Linked DNA regions of Homo sapiens: region 1 is linked to region 2. Evidence: promoter capture Hi-C in 16 types of primary human blood cells and fetal thymus (Javierre and others, 2016). All regions are on one chromosome and are shown on one strand. Each heading gives the region's core, a stretch centred on a gene start or on the middle of the fragment in contact. The rest is flanking DNA. Distances are from core to core; before and after follow the strand shown.

The links. Contacts are between HindIII fragments. The CHiCAGO score rates a contact against its expected background, and 5 or more counts as called.
Region 1: the fragment with the promoter of KDM2A here is called in contact with the fragment with the promoter of NDUFS8 in region 2 in 1 of 17 cell types (neutrophils); the score reaches 10.2 in neutrophils.

What each region holds. Positions count from the first base shown.
Region 1 is chr11:67,117,561-67,120,871 of GRCh38, forward strand. It overlaps KDM2A (lysine demethylase 2A), which reads left to right and starts at 1,703. Exons shown (of 21, transcript NM_012308.3): 1 at 1,703-2,489. It overlaps LOC107984341 (a long non-coding RNA gene), which reads right to left and starts at 788. Exons shown (of 2, transcript NR_160735.1): 1 at 1-788. RefSeq lists silencers at 610-659, 800-1,079, 1,260-1,699, 1,840-1,909, 2,090-2,229 and 2 more and an enhancer at 1,140-1,189. The HindIII fragment of the contact is 9,806 bases long and covers 1-3,311 here.
Region 2 is chr11:68,029,411-68,032,183 of GRCh38, forward strand. It overlaps NDUFS8 (NADH:ubiquinone oxidoreductase core subunit S8), which reads left to right and starts at 1,271. Exons shown (of 7, transcript NM_002496.4): 1 at 1,271-1,323; 2 at 2,742-2,773. The coding sequence starts at 2,742. It overlaps GLTC1 (glycolysis associated regulator of LDHA post-transcriptional modification 1), which reads right to left and starts at 1,024. Exons shown (of 4, transcript NR_197583.1): 1 at 883-1,024; 2 at 1-10. RefSeq lists enhancers at 1,012-1,306, 1,298-1,477. The HindIII fragment of the contact is 7,666 bases long and covers 1-2,773 here.

The sequences.
Region 1 (3,311 bases), core at 453-2,952, 910 kb before region 2:
TGTTTATGCAGGTTATATGATTCACTCCATGCCCTACCTCTCTGCTCCATTCCCTGCTTCCAGGAGTCAGAGCTTAAAGAGTGGGAAACCAAGGCAGGGAGAAAAAGATTTGTGTGACACCGCTCAGCAAGGGCGTAGTGGAGCCAATAGTGCCAACCCCGATGTGTAACGCCCCAGCCACCGTCCTTTGTGGGATTTAGAATTTAAACGGGCCCCAGAGCAAGAGATTGGCTGGGGAAATGCCCGGATCGCGGCTGGGCTGCTCGCATGGCACTGCTCGGGTACCTCCGGCCGGGCTCCGTCGACGTTCGGAGCCTGCTGGCCCGTCGGGCAGCTGTCGGGCCGCGGGAGTCGGTCCGTGGGCAGGGCCGGCGCAGCTCGGGCGGCTGCTGCCCCGTCGCTGACCCCCGCGCGAAGCTGCGCGCACCAACAGGAGACATCTTCCCGGCCGGGCCTCCCGCGCCCGCCACGGCCCAGGGCGGCAGGGTCGGGCCGGGGGCCGGGGGCGGCCCGCGCACCCCTCCGTGGGGGGCGCCCCGACTCGCCGGGGGCGGGGTCACGTCCCACCCGGGCCGCCGGGGGCACCGGCGCGGCGGAAAGCTGAGCGTGGCCGAGGAGCGGGGGCTTCCTGGGCCACCTCGCCGGGCGCCTCCGGCCGGCGGTGGGCGCGCCGGCCGCCACCGCCCCCGGGCCGTCGCGGAGACCGCTTCTGCGCCTGGTACCTGTGGACGCCCTTGTTAAGCGCCTGCAGCACCCCCGGGGAGCCGAGCCCAGGACAGACATGCTACTCCTGTTTCCTGCCCCTTCGGAGCGACGAGCAGTGGGTGAGGCGGGGCCAGGCCGCTGCACCGAGGAGCCCCCGGGCCCAGGGCAGACGGGCCCCGTGGCGGCGGCGCCGGGGCCTGCCCGGGAATGGCGGGCAAGCCGGCCTCGGCCCACCGGCCGGCACGCGAAGGGAGGGCAGCCGGCGGCCATGCGCCCCTTCCCTGCGCCCTCTCGCCCTGGGCAGGCCTGAGCCGGGAGCCCAGGTCCCGCGGGCCCAGCCCGGCGGCTTGACCCCGGGAGACCCTGCTTTGAGGCGGGTATCGGTTGCCCTGGCCCAGGCCTCCCGGCCCTCAGGTTGTGTGACTGTGACGGGCAGCCTGGGGCCAAAGGCGGTTGAAGGGGAAGGGGACGCAGATCTCCCACTGCTTGGGGGGGGTGATGTGCTTTGTGGGGGGTCGGGGGTCACCACCCTCCCAGGGGGGTGGGGGAGGGCGGCCAGCACAGCTGGCCGCGAGGGGCGGGGTCGCAGAGGCGAAGTGTGTGTGAGGGTGTGTGGGGGGAGGGCGCGCGGAGGAGGATCGGTGCCCTGCGCGCAGGCGCGAGCAGCCAGCCAGGCCCGAGCCCTGGAAGAACGCCGACGGGGAGCGGGGGCGGCGGGCTGGCGGGAGGGAGGGAGGGCGGGCGGCCTGACGCGAGGGGGCGCAGGGAGCCGCGTCGGCGTCGCGGGGCGCGGGCGATTCGAGGCCGACGCATCCGCGCGTGCGCGCGCCGGCGGTGTGTCCGCGTTAGAGGGGAGTGACGCGTGCGCGTTCACGCGCGCCCGGGAGAGCGGTAAGAAGCGCAGGGAGGCCTGAAGGGGGTGGGGGGGTGGAGAGGCGAGCTGGAGGAGGGGTGGGGAGGTGGCGCCTGCGCAGTGCGCCTCGGAGGAGCTGTGTGTATGTGAGAGTCTGACGGGTTCAAAATGGCGGCGGCTGCTTCAGCGGCTCCTCCTGTGTGAGGGAAACAACACCCCTCCCCGGCAGCGGCGGCGGCGGCGGCGGCTCTCGGAGCACCTTCCCAGCGGCTGGGCCCGTGGCCGCTCTGTCTTTCCTGGGCAGGGGACGCTCCGGGAGGAGGGGCAACGCCAGGGGGCCCATCCCCCGGAATCCCTCTTCTGCGACTGGGGAGTAGCCGGGGGGCTCGTCCCGCAGCGCGGAGCCAGACCTGAGGGGGAGACGCGAGGGGAGCCAGGGCCCCCATCCCGGCGCGCCGCGCCGCTCCCGCCCTGTCCGCCCCCCGGGGCCGGGGCCCGCGTTCCGGGGGGCCGGGGCGGCGCGGGGAGCCTCGGGCCGGCCGGTCTCAGCTGATCGGCCGCTGCTCCCGCAGGCGACCAGCCCCTGCTGGCCGAGGGCACGGCGAGGAGGGCGCTCCCTGCGGCCGGGGCCGGCCCGGGGCTCGGGCCCGGGCTGCTGACCGCTGGCCTGGGGGAGGCGGGGGCGCCCCGGGCTCGGCGCCGAGGGGTCGCGCTCCTCTCTCCTGACGCCTCCGACTCCCGGTCTCCAAAGCCAGAAGAGAAGGTTTGATTCAGCAACTGTTTGCTCCCTTTTCCTGGTCGCTCTGACCCTCTCTGGATACTGGGTTGATCCACGGAAAAACCGAAGACGACGTTTGGGATTTAATTATTCCTCTCAGCTTTGGAATCTTTTACTTCTCACTTGGACAAGAACTCAAGAGCAGAATCTCCGGTGAGTTTCCCCCTCCCCCCCCTCATTTGGAAGTTTGGTTGACTGTGTTATCCAAAGACTGAATGCAAAGTTTCTATCTCTTTTTCCGATGGGTGAACCATTGAAACGCCTTTTCCTGGGGGAGCCCAGCGAGATTCGCCCTTTTTCCTCTCCGGCCCTGGCTGCTCCATGCCCAGGCGGTCGTCGCCCAGGGGGTGCAAGCACGGTTTCCCTCCCGACTTCGGGCCAGGGCTTCCTCCGGGAGGGCTCTGCCTCTAACTGCTCTGCAAACTGTGTCATCGGGTCCTCTGGTCTCGTAGCAGTTTTGAAAGGATGCTGTTAACGTGGCTGTAATGTAGTGACAAAAACGGGGGGAACCTGTGTTCTCAATGGAAGCCATTATCCACGAGAATATTTAGAAAAAAGAAAACCCTTTCTTGGTATTACGGATTGACCGTCGCGCCGGCCGGTCTTTTATTTAATTTTTGGACAAGATGTATTTTCCTTGTATCCTTAGATGCAATCGTTTATTTTATTACTTTATCCAAAAAGATCAGATGGAATTTTGGTCCTTGATTTGCACCTCTGAAATTTGTTTCAGAGTTGTGCACATCTTGTGTTGGGGTGGAGGGTAGATTTGGGAATGATAAGATCCGGGGAGTCTAGAAAGGAAGGCGACGATTGTGCACGGCCTTACAGGAGGGGTATGGGAAATTGTTTTGGGGTCATTTAAATCCTAATTTTTTGTCCTCTTTTTACATAGTCAGTTTGCCCTTCTTTCCTTTAGTTTCTGATTACCGGTGAGAGAGAACTAATTTGGTTAGGATCTGGATTAGTTCAGTG
Region 2 (2,773 bases), core at 21-2,520:
CAGGAATCACCTGATGAAGGGCCAGGGTCAGGTGTGGGCCACCATCCCAAGACCTCCCTTCTCTCTAGGGCCAGCCCCTCTCCTCTGAGCACCTGCTGACCAGCCCAAAGCCCTCTCCACTCCTCAGCTTGAACTCCCCCAGGGTCTCCCTGTGGCCCACAGGTCCTTTGGAGGCTCGGGCATCTGCATGCAAATCCCAAACCACTGTCCCCTTTGCACACACTGAGCCTGCCCTTGTCCTCGTCCTGGTCTACCATGCGTGTCCTCCCTCTGCACGGGCATGGGACATGCCCTCTGCCTCCTTCCTGTCCTGGCCTGCCCAACTCCTACCTACCCTCAGCGCAGATCCTCCCAACACACACATGCAGGCAGCCTCGGGGCCTCTGCGGGTCCCTCTACCACAGCATTCCCGGGGAAAGGCCCGGCGTGGTGGCTCACGCCTGTAATCCCAGCACTTTGGCAGGCCGAGGCAGGAGGATCGCCTGAGTCCAGGAGTTCCAGACCAGCCTGGGCAACATGGCGAGACCCCGTCTCTACAAAAAATACAAAAATTAGCCGAGCCTGGTGGTGGCAGGCGACTGTGGTTCCAGCTGCTCGGGAGGCTGAGAAGTGAGGATCACCCGAGCCTGGGAGGTCGAGGCTGCAGTGAGCCGAGATCGCACCACTGCATTCCAGCCTGAGCCACAGAGCCAGATTGTCTCAAAAAAAGAAAAAAAAAAAAAAAAAAAAAAAAATTCGCTGGTAGGAAACATAGGCTGGTTGAGTACGGGAGTCATACAGATCAGGTGGATCAGGCGGCCGCACACCGCAGCTCTACGGCCCGGGAACGTTACTAAATACTCCCATGCCTCAGCTTCCCGCCTTAACGTGGTAACACGTTACTGTAGTTTCTCCACGCAGAGCTGCTGTGAGGATTAAAAGAGGCCGCGTGAGTTGAGCATCTCGTCGCCATTACCGTCATCACACGCCCCCCACCCAACCCGGCGGGCCCACCCTCTGCACCCACGGCGAAAGCACTCTTTCTAAACCACGCCCCGGATGTCCCGCCTCCAGCGGCTCGGAGGTCTTCACTTATTGGCCTCCCCAAACCAACATGGCGGCCCCCTACAAACTTCAAGCGCCGGTCTCTCCTAGCCAATCAAAAGAAAGATATTTCTGAATCCCGCCTCTTTCAGCAGCCTTGCTGGCCAATCAGACCACACCATGAAGCATCAATACAGAAAAGGGGGAACCCGCTGGCCCAATGGCAGCGTCCTACAGTGTAGCCTCCGCCTCCCGATTGACTGGCCTGCTTGGCAAGGCAAGTAGCGGCGGCGCTTCAAGGTGGGTGTTCACGTTTTGGCCGTGAAAGTCGGGCTTGGGCAGCGTGGCGTCGGGGGCGAGTGTGGTGTCCCCGTTGGCGCCGCCAGCTCTGCGCCTGGGCTTCCCCTCGGCTCACTCAGGATCCGCGGCCTCCGTGTCCTTCAGGTGCAGCGGGGAGCCGGCTCTCAGGGCGCATGCGCCGCCCGCTCTGCGCCACCGGCCTAGTTAGGGTCGGAGATCACTGGGAAGGTGGGGAAGGTGCTGGGTTGGGTCCCTGGAACTGCAGTCAGTGATCCAAAGGAGTGGGCCTGTTAGGGGGTTCACAGGTCGTGGGATGAGCTCTTATGAGCGCCGGCTAAGTGCCGGGCTCTGGGGTGCCCTTGGCATGTACGGGCTCCCCTAATTCCCAAGACCAACCGCCCCCAACCCACTTCATAGGTGAGAAGACGGAGGTCAGGTCACATCATCTGCCCAAGGTCACGCGGCAGGCTGGGGGACAGTTCCAGGAGGGCCTTGAAGCTGGGGAAAGGAATGTGGTACCGAGGACTGTTCAGGCCTTGAAGAGTTTCCAGCAGGGCAGGGCTGGGTTCCGATCCTCGGCCCACCTCCTTATCGTGTGACTTCCGACAAGTCACTTTTTTATCTTTTTTTTGAGACAAGGTCTCACTCTGTCGCCCAGGTTGGAGGGCAGTGGTGCAGTCTGGGCTCACTGCAACTTCTGCCTCCTGGGTTCAAGCGATTCTCCTACCTCAACCTCCCGAGTAGCTGGGATTATAAGTGCCCACCACCACACCTGGCTAATTTCTGTATTTTTTGGTAGGGACGGGGTTCCACCATGTTAGCCAGGCTGGTCTCAAACTCCTGACCTCAGGTGATCCACCTGCCTCAGCCTCCCAAAGTGCTGGGATTACAGGCGTGAGCCACCACACCCAGCCCTAGCGAGTCACTCAACAAACTGAGTCCCAGCGCCTTATTTGTGCCTCCCTCGTGGAGTCCTTGTAAGGATAGGATGGCAGCGCTTTCCACCCCTGGGCACGGTTCCTGGGGGAGGAGAGCTAACAAAGTTCGCTCTCAGTGCATGCTGGCGGGGGCTGGTAATGTTGTTTTTGGTTAGATTTGGGGAGGATGAAGGGAGGAGCAGAAAGGTGGGAAACAGGATCTCTGGGAGGGAGAAAGGAAGGATGGATTTAAAAGGTTTCTTAGGTGAGGCAGAACTTGGGGTCCACAGAAACTGAATTGTAGCTCAGCCAAGCTGAATCAGATGGAAAGCTGGGAGGCGCTGGGAACAGGAAAGCCATCTGTGCCTCTGACAGCAATGGGGTGCGAGTAGAGGGCAAAGTGACACATGTCAGTGGAGACTTGGGATCCTTGCGGTGCCAGTCTCAGAAGAGGATGGTTCTTGGGCACACCCCACCCTCCATCCCTTTTTATGCCACCAGATGCGCTGCCTGACCACGCCTATGCTGCTGCG